Regions from separate parts of the Homo sapiens genome. Here region 1 is linked to region 2. Evidence: promoter capture Hi-C in human tissues and cell types (Jung and others, 2019). All regions are on one chromosome and are shown on one strand. The core of a region is centred on a gene start or on the middle of the fragment in contact, and the rest is flanking DNA. Distances in the headings are between cores, read along the strand shown. Region 1 holds the start of HOXC4 (homeobox C4). Region 2 has its middle 13 kb from the start of MIR3198-2.

Region 1 (4,764 bases), core at 1,925-4,424, 160 kb after region 2:
ACCTTCTCCTAACAAACAAGCAAAAAATTAAGCAGGCCTTGCTAGGGCCTGGATCTCAGGACCAGAATTATTTGGGAGCCTTTGGCTTGAATGTATTCAGGTAATCCAGGCAAGATTTTTTGTTTCTTTTTTAGCCCCAAGGAAACAAATTTATTTAATTAATTTATTTCTTTACAGCCAGAGAAACTTGTTCAGGCTATCCCCATACGCTGCCAGGACCTGGGAGGTTATAGGAAGAGAGGGTGGTCCTTGACTCTCCCTAAGTCTCTTCGCAACACCTGGCAGGTCCATAATAAAAGTTAGAGAATAAAAAGGTAAAAGTCTTTTATTATCTCCAGGCATCAGCCTTTGAGGCCTATCCATAACAAGGGTACCTCCCAGGCCTCTGGCCAGTCTTTTTTCCAAGCCTAAACAAACAGAGAAGGCATCCTGACAGGTGACTTTGCTGCTTCAGAGTCACCAGCTCAAAACCTTCCTTCTTTTAAGAACTCAAATGTTGAGGGGATGTCTTCCTTAATCCCTCATCCCAAAAGAGCCCTAAAAGATGAAAGAAAACTATTCTCCTTCCCACTCCCTAAACTTGCCCCCTTGTCTACAAAGTAGGCAGGCCTACTCAGCACAGAGGAGGGAGAAGGGAAGAGAGAGAAAAGACAAAAAGAAGAAACTGTACCTAACTATAGAAAAGTGAGACACTCCCCACCCTCAGCTCCACTGAAGTGCCCCCAGAGGAGTCTGGTCTCTCTGCAGACTCAGGGGGAAGGAAGGGGACTGGAGAAATCAGCCTTAATCTTCCACATCCCCTCTTCTGAAGATCCCATACCCCAACCCCCTTGCTTGTTCTTCTAAGGACATTGGAAGACTAATGGAGAGCTAAGATTTGTGTGTTTGTTTAAAGTAAACTTAGGCAACTATAGAGAAGATGGGATGTTACCAGGCCAGAGAGGGAGGGGAATAAAAAGAAACCATCAGACATTGACGTAAAACTAATTCACATCCACTGGTTTATTATTGATCACGGGGCATTTCACATCGACACTAAAATTCTTTATTGCAAGTTTTACAATAATCAAGTAAATTCAGTCCAAAAACACAATAACCACGATAGGGGTGGGGAGAGATTCTACCTATAGACTGCCTCTCTGAACTGAAAGTTCATTTTGATTTTCTTTTGGCTCCTCAAACTGAACAGCTCTGAGAGGCTCTCCAGATGCATTTAGCTTTGTCTGCTGTCTTCGCCCCCTCTCCTCCCACACCCCCCCCCAACAATAATACAAAAGAACTTCATAGCTTTGTTCTCCTTAAAATGACTTCCCCCTCACTAACCTCCCCTGGTGCATTTTCAATGCAAAAGGCCTAAGGAAAGAGGGGGGGAAGGAGGAGGAGGAGAAGGATGAGAATTGGCTTTAAAATTTCTTTCCTTTTTTCTTTTCCTCATTTCCCCTGAAATTCACCCAAGCCAGACCATCACACCTTGCAATATATAATTTTTGCAGCTTTTTTTCTTAAAAAATAAATAACCCCCCAAAATGGCCTTTTAAAAAAAAACACCCAGCAGGTACCATGCTAAGACAACATCACATGCTTAAAAGGGTCCTTAACAGTGGGAGGGAGAGGAGGGCAGGGGGCTTGTTTGTTTATCTGTTTTGTCTGTTTGGAACTGACAAGGGACAAGGTGAGAGGAAGAGAGAAAAGAACCTATATATATATATATATATATATATATTAAATTCTATAAATAAGAGTCAATTTGTGTGTGAGGGGAGGGTGGGGGCATGGGGTGGGGGCAGGGGTGTGAGTTATGTTTTATAACCTGGTAATGTCCTCTGCCCGTTGCTGCTCCGGCGGCGTGGCGCTCTGGGAGTGGTCTTCAGAAGTACCCGGGGTAGCTGCCGAAAGGGTGCTGGGCGCAGCGCCGGCCGGGGGTGCTGACCTGACTTTGGTGTTGGGGAGTCGGTGGTCCTTCTTCCATTTCATGCGACGGTTTTGGAACCAGATTTTGATCTGCCTCTCAGAGAGGCACAGCGAGTGGGCGATCTCGATCCTTCTCCTTCGGGTCAGGTAGCGGTTGTAATGAAACTCTTTCTCTAATTCCAGGACTTGCTGCCGGGTATAGGCTGTCCTCGAGCGCTTGGGTTCCCCTCCGTTATAATTGGGGTTCACTGGGGGGAGGGGAAAAGCAAATAGTGGGGTTCAGAGGCAGCAGGCTCCCCGCCCCCCACCCTCACCCCATCCTCAGCTCTGAGAAACAGGAGGAGGGAGTGGTGGAAATAAAGTCATCAAGCTTAAATGGGTTATAAAGAAGTTGAAGGAAGCTGAAGACTTTGTAGTGTAATAAGAGGGGAATCCTCATTGTAACGACACTGAATTATTTATGCGCCCTTAGAAAGCGAGCATAGTTTTCACACATACATAACAGATCGTAGCACATGGCTCGGACTGCCCAGAGTAGCTAAGCCATAAAATTTATGGGGGATGTAATTACCCATTCTCGCTCGTAAATCCAGTTCAATTGTGCTAACCCAGAGTCGCTCCTGGAGAGAGAGGGGGAAGGAGAGAAAGGAGGACGGGGGCCAGAGGGGGCCGAGGAGGGTGGGGAGCGCTAGGGAAGAAGGGAGGGAGGGGGGGAGCAAAAAGCAAAGTTGCCTACCCGTGCTAACGTGAATTTTTTTCATCCATGGGTAGACTATGGGTTGCTTGCTGGCGGCGCTGGAGGGATGGTCGGGGGCTGGCTGGCTGCAGGCTGGCGGGGCTGGGGACGGGGAGGCGGAGGCGCCTGAGAGAGGCGCCGGCTCGCAGAGCGACTGTGATTTCTCGGGGTGGTGGTGGCCCGCCTGGGCCGGCCCGTGGCCTCGCGAATTGCCGGGCCCCTGGAGACTGGTGCAGCTATACTGGCGCTCAGGGTAGCTAGGGCGCGGAGGCGGTGGTGGGTACAGCTCCTGGTGGTGATGCTGGAATCCCGATTCCCTGGTCCGGCCGTAATATTCCGGACTGTGTTCAGGGATGTAGCTATTTTGCGAATATTCTTCGCATGGAGGAAATTTCGGATCGATGTAGTTAGAGTCCATCAAATACGAGCTCATGATCATTAATTTCTGGAGTGGAAAATAATTTTTCTCGCTTTGTCGTTTTTCTGCTCCATAAAGCCCTCCTACTAGCTAGCGACCCTGTAAAGTTACTTTCACCATGTGACTCCTCCGGCCAATCACACGGAGCAACCCAGTCCCCGGATAAGGAACCGAATCGCTTTATTCAAAATGTATCCAATTTTTTTGTGTGTGTGGTGGTGGTGGTGCTGGGAGGCGGGGGTGGGTGGTGATGTGGGGTTAGCTAGCAGAGGTTGGAGTGCCCCCAGTGCACATCCCGCCAGACTGACAACCCTCCCCTGCAAAAGGAGATGGGAAGCTCCCGGCTCCCCTCCAAAGCCCGGGCATTGGGGGACTGTCGGGAGGCAGTGATTCAGCCCCCGCCCAGGGTCTCCCCTCAGGCCTCTGCTGGGCCCCGTGGGCCTCGGCTCCTGAGCTTTTCCAGAGGTCTCCATTCATGGCGATCGTGTCTCAGTCTGTGTAGGTCACGGGGCAGCGCCCCTCTTTCGCAGGAAGAGGAAGTTGAATGAGGACTGGAGTGGATGTTGGATGGGGAGGGGCCCAGGCTGAGCCGAGGAGGCTGGAGAGCCTGGAGTGCCCCCCATCCAAGGATACCAGAGTCCAGCCCCTCTTCCCCATACACACTCACCCAACCCTCTGGCCATGCGGCCGGCGAGGCAGGGTCCCAGCTGGACCAGGCAGGTAGAGGCAGCGGGATGCAAATGATTCTGACGTCATTTCTGGAGGTCTGGGGGTTGAGCCCCCGCTGAAGAGAGACAGGAAGTGGTTGGCAAAAGCAGAGTTCAGAAGTCTCGCCTTCCCCTGCTACCCACTGACCCTCCCTGCCCCAGCCCCAGAGCAGAGGATCTCTTCTACTGCTGGCTTCTGTTTCCACTCCCCATTCAGCCCGGCCTGCTATTTTCTGACAATTATCTCCAAGGAGCTGGGGCAAGGAGGAGAGCTTTCTGCCAGGAGTCAGTGCCCTGTGATGGTGCCCAGCCAAGATCCTGAGAGTTCTTTCTCTGTCCCCACAGAGGGCAGACCTAGCTAAGAGGGAGGCCTGTGTGGGTAGAGCCTGCTTGCTTCTGGCTAGGAGCTGTATCCATGTAACACGTGTGTTTACATGTAAACACGAATTCCTAAAGGCCAGCTCCAGGCTGCTTTCCAAAAACGGAAGGCTAAGCTCACCAAGTTGGGGAGGCACGGCCAGCCTTTGGGGTCTCCAGCCCATTCACACCCCCTGCTCTCTCTCTGCCACCCACTCACAGTAATACTCTGATGGAGGGGGGTGACAGGGCCGTAGAGGAGGGAGGGGGCCAGGAAAAGCTGCTTTCCTAACCACCACCCCCCCCCCCCAGCTAGGGGTGGTCCTGTCATGCCACCGATTCCAATTAACTGATCGCCCATAACTCAGAGTTGCGGGGGGTAGCGGAGGGGAGAGCCCAGGGAGGGAGCCGGGTCCCCTTGTTGTACTTGATAACAATTATAGTTTAAAATCATAGCTTGCCAGGGCTCAGCTATATTTTACTTGATAACAATAAAAGTGACACATAAAGTTAACTGTTTATGTTTTATTTATTAGACTAAATCTGCCAGCGGTGGTAGGAGCGCTTGCCTCGTCGCTACAGCTTTTATAGGGCTGTAAAACGTCATAAATCAGTCTCGCGGAATCGCCCGCACT
Region 2 (4,604 bases), core at 1,451-3,950:
ATTTCTAGTAGAGACGGGGTTTCACCATGTTGGCCAGACTGGTCTCAAACTCCTGACCTCAAGCGATCCATCCGCCTCGGTCTCCCAAAGTGCTGGGATTACAGGCGTGAGCCAACGAGCCCTGCTGGACATTTGTTATAAATTGACCAAGGGAACACAAAACCAGAGAAGACAGGAAGCACTGGGGGAGGCGTGGTTTGCACACCAAGAGCTGTCTGGGAGAAGACGGTGGAGACAGGGGAGGCATGTTCAGACTAGGGCTCAATACTCAGAGGGAAGTCCAGAAGGGTCCTTTCTTCTAGCCCCTTTAGGCAGCCTGAGGTGATTTGGGGGTTTGTGCTGCCCCCTGGTAGCCACTGTGGGAATAGCACTGAGAACTATGCTCAGCAGAAGAACCGGTATGAACCCCATCCTACAAGATGAATTCTTGCTGTCTCATACTTTTTCTTTCTCTCTCTCTCTCTTTTTTTTTTTTTTTTTTTTTTTTTTTGAGACGGAGTCTCGCTCTGTCACCCAGGCTGGAGTGCAGTGGCGTGATCTCGGCTCACTGCAAGCTCCGCCTCCCAGGTTCATGCCATTCTCCTGCCTCAGCCTCCCGAGTAGCTGAGACTACAGGCGCCTGCCACCGCGCCCGGCTAATATTTGTATTTTTAGTAAAGACGGGGTTTCACCATGTTGGCCAGGATGGTCTCGATCTCCTGACCTTGTGATCCGCCCGCCTCGGCCTCCCAAAGTGCTAGGATTCCAGGCTTGAGCCACCGCGCCCGGTCTTCTCTTTTCTTTTCTTTTCTTTTCGTTTCGTTTCGTTTCTTTGTCTCGCTCTGTCACCCAGGCTGGAGTGCAGTGGCACGATCTTGGCTCACTGCAAGCTCCGCCTCCCGGGTTCACGCCATTCTCCTGCCTCAGCCTCCCGAGTAGCTGGGACTACAGGCGCCCACCACCATGCCCGGCTAATTTTTTTTTTTTTTTTTTTTTTGTATTTTTAGTAGAGACGGGGTTTCACCATGTTAGCCAGGATGGTCTCGATCTCCTGACCACATGATCCGCCGCCTCGGCCTCTCAAAGTGCTGGGATTACAGGCGTGAGCCACCGCACCCGGCCGCTGTCTCATACTTTCTTGCAGAATGCATACTGGTAAAATTCCTTAAGCCTCTTGGCCTGGATTGTTAGTGGAGGTGCTCTCCTTCTCGGGGGCAAGGGAGTGAGATGGAACCTCATGTCACCTGTCTGGACTCTTAAGACATGTAGTAAGCATTTTATGTACTATTCTCGCTCCATCATTACAAAGTCCCTATTAAGTAGTCACTATTATTCCCATTTTAAGGTGAGGAAACAGCCTTCGAAGGAGGCAGTTACTTCTCCAAGATCATGCGGTGCCAGAGTTTGAACCTCAGCTTCTTGGCTCGGAGTCCAGTGCTTTTTCACGGCATCAGCTCTCCACTCATAATCCCCCTGGTTTCTCACCCCTCACAATCTTGGGCCAAGATGCGTAAGGACCCAAAAAGTACCAAGAGGAGGGGCTCTTCCATGGGATGTCATGTAAAGGCTGCTTGGGACCACCAGAGCCCTGGGTATCTATGTGTGCCTGAAATAGTCAAGGCCTCACTCATTTATTCAGTATTTGAGTATCTCCTGGTCTTCAGACTTTGTGCCCAGAAGTGGGATACAGCAAAGAACAGACATATTCTCTGTCTTAAGTGAGAGCTCACAATTTGGTAAGTGCAACTGACCAAATGTTTTTGCAGTAAGTGCTAATAGATGTCATTATCAATTGCCAGGGGTGAGAGGAATCTCAGAGGTCTTTCCAAAGGAAAGAACGTCTGTGCAATGATTTTCAAAGAATGTGTCTGTCAAACAGACAAGAGGGCAGAAGAGCAGTCCAGGTGGAAGCAAGGTGCAGGTAAGTCCAGGCAGAGTGAGAGAGCTCATGAGGAGCTTAGGGACCCTCAGAGCAGTTTTGTGTAACCGAAGCGCTGGCTGTTGTGTGCCTGAGTCTGGCCATGATGCAGAAGATAAGGCTAGAGAAGGGGGATGCTGACAGAACGTCAGGGGCTTTCTTTGGCAAGGGTGAACAATATAAGCTTTATTCTGCAAGCCTGGGAGTCCAGAGTTTTTAGCTGTTGACCTCCATTAGACCAATTTTTTAGCAAGGTAACCCCAGAGGCAGGACTACCACCTAAGAGGCTATGCACCAGTCCTAGCAGGAAAATCCCACCAGAAGCCCCTGGTCCAAGGCGTCAGGTAAAGATGAGCGCATTCAGGAGACATTGACCAAGTCGAGTCCAAGAGAAATGGAGGAACCAGAATCTGAGATTGCAGGCTTGGCCTGCGCCAGTGCGAGACAGACATGCCCAGAAGGTGGCTCGAGCCAGGGGAGCCGGGTCCGGGCAGGACTGATCCAGCGGTTACTCAGGGAGGCGTGAGAACGCGCCAGTACCCGGGACGTGAACAGCCGCGGCGGAGGCGCGCAGGGAGAACGCCTGCCCCGCGTGGGGCCTGCTCGCCCAGAGCCGCCAGCCACGAATTTATGGCCCAAAGCCGAATGCAGCTGTGCGCAGCTGGGTATGCAAATGTATGCAAATTCGCGCTGCCCGGCCCGGGCTAGGTTGCGAGCGGAGTCAAAGGGTGGGGGAAGGGGCGCAGCATTGTTACTGTTCTTGCGCTCCCAGAGGAGTTCAGACGCGGTGCGGGAGGGGATGCAGGGGGAAGAAATACATCTTCCCTGTCCTGACCGTCCCGCCTCAGGACCGTGACAATCTATCGGGACGAGCGTGGGTTCCCTCCATGTCCTCAATGACTTGTGCCCTCACGCCCTCAGCCCCACCCTGCGTAAGATGCGTGCAGGAGGAAGGGTCCTGACACCCAGAATACCTGAGCCCCTGTTGGTCTGAGCGTCCTTCCTTCACTGCGAGCGGGAAGGAGCCGCAGGGTGGGTAGATGATCCCACACCCGCCCGGGTCTCCCAGAATTACCCCTCCCCATAGCCAGGGAGGGGGTCGTCCGGAAGACCTGATTTCTTTCATCCCTTTATTGTGACCCGTCCTTCTGCCTCCCATCCGCTTCTTGAGAAGTCCCTACAGAAGTCTAACCATAGTCACATTTGCTATTGTTTCTGTTTTATTTTTCCGGGTGGTTTAGTGAGAAGATTATTCCCAAAGTCCCAAATGTTGGGTTCTGAGGGTGTGGGAGTGGGGCCTGGGCATCAACTCCCGCCCCCTCTCCCCCACCCAACGACCAAAGAATAAGTCCCCACGCTAGGCAAGAACTGGAAGGGAGTCTGGGCTGAGGCTGTCATCTCCCGGCTCTGGCTTGTTTTTTTTCCCGCTTTTTTTTTTTTCCCTTGCTGACTCTTCCCACAATGGCCACAAGGGGTCTTCCTTGCGCTAAGAATGGGAAATCCGGCGTCAGGTTTGAGCGCTGTGAGGGTGGGGCGCCTAGCGATGCTTCCTCTCCGCGGTTTCCGAGCGCCGAGACCTGCAGGCGTCCCACCTCCCCGCCCCTCCTCGGTGGCTTCACTCAGTCGCAGACGACTTCAGTTCTCTTACCCCACGCTCCAGACTGGAGATTGGCATTTCAAGATCTCCTGCTCCTTCCCCTAAGCCTATGGAGCAACCGGAGGGCTGTGAGCTGAGACAAGAATTCGGGCCAGACATATAGTAGGCGCTCAATAAATGCTTTTCAGATGAATGACAATGTGGCAGTGTCCTGTTCAGAAGCTTGGGCAGGGAAGAGATGACTCGGGTGAGTTGAGCAGGACACCCCTCCTCCCAAAGCAAGAGGGTGCCAAGAGGCGGCTCAACTCCCTACCAGGGAAACTGAGGCCATCTGTGGGACTTACATATTGATACAGCAGGGGAGGTTCTGAAGTGACAGGGGCAATTAGAAGGGAGGGGTTAGCCAATCAGAAAGCTGTCATGGATTGATCTGACGTCGGAAGGCGGGAAAAACGGAAGATCCAGGCCCCTAAAGGAAAGCTTTGTTAGAACGGGAAAATGGGATGTGAGCGTGGAAAAGGGGCTGGAGATTTGGATTGTTTAGCTCAGAGAAGGAAAGTTAAGGCAGCCCCTTTCTCCTGTGAGGTCAGAAGTTGTTAGGTTTAGCTGAAGCTGCAGCAGGAGGAAGGGTGGTCAGACACCAGGAAGGACTTCCCCGTTGGAGTCAGACGTGGTGGCAGAGGGTGAAGGGGTGATGACGTCGTTCCCGGGGTGGGAGGTGAGTTATCTGAAACCCTCTTATAATGGGAACCCGTCAGGGGTGGTGGGGGCGGGAGATACAGTTAAGGGTTAGATGCAGTAGGTGGAAGCTTAGGTGAAGTCGGCTGCCCTTCCCCCACGGAAGCGGCTGCAGGGCCCGAGAGGTGGGAGGTTCCTGACCAGGTGCTCTCACGCTCACTGCCCACCTGGATGGACACCTGGGTGGTCCCGCCACACACCCCCACTCAGGGCTTGCAGGAAGTCCTTCCCCAGCCGGATGGGGCGAGGTGTGTTTGGATGAACCGTAGCCTCGGGTTGCACCCGGGTGGCGCAGACCTCCTCGAAGACCCTCACGTGGGCTCCCGTGGCAACTCGCCAGTCCCATCCCCTAGCTTTGGCGCATTCAGGGCC

The links. The method cuts DNA at HindIII sites, captures the fragments that hold promoters and counts their contacts. A contact is called where the count stands out against the background at its distance.
Region 1: the fragment with the promoter of HOXC4 here is called in contact with a fragment that was not itself captured in region 2 in 7 of the 25 tissues and cell types used here (bladder, lymphoblastoid cells, mesendoderm cells and 4 more).

The regions. Positions count from the first base shown.
Region 1 is chr12:54,052,245-54,057,008 of GRCh38, reverse strand. It overlaps HOXC4 (homeobox C4), which reads right to left and starts at 3,174. Exons shown (of 2, transcript NM_153633.3): 1 at 2,648-3,174; 2 at 979-2,159. The coding sequence starts at 3,086. The coding sequence ends at 1,804. RefSeq lists a cis regulatory region at 2,883-3,383 and enhancers at 3,960-4,119, 3,415-4,396, 4,397-4,764. The HindIII fragment of the contact is 12,403 bases long and covers 1-4,764 here.
Region 2 is chr12:54,215,980-54,220,583 of GRCh38, reverse strand. No RefSeq gene overlaps it. Among named protein-coding and RNA genes, the nearest start is that of MIR3198-2, 13 kb to the left of the region's middle. RefSeq lists silencers at 2,548-2,597, 4,399-4,584. The HindIII fragment of the contact is 3,556 bases long and covers 923-4,478 here.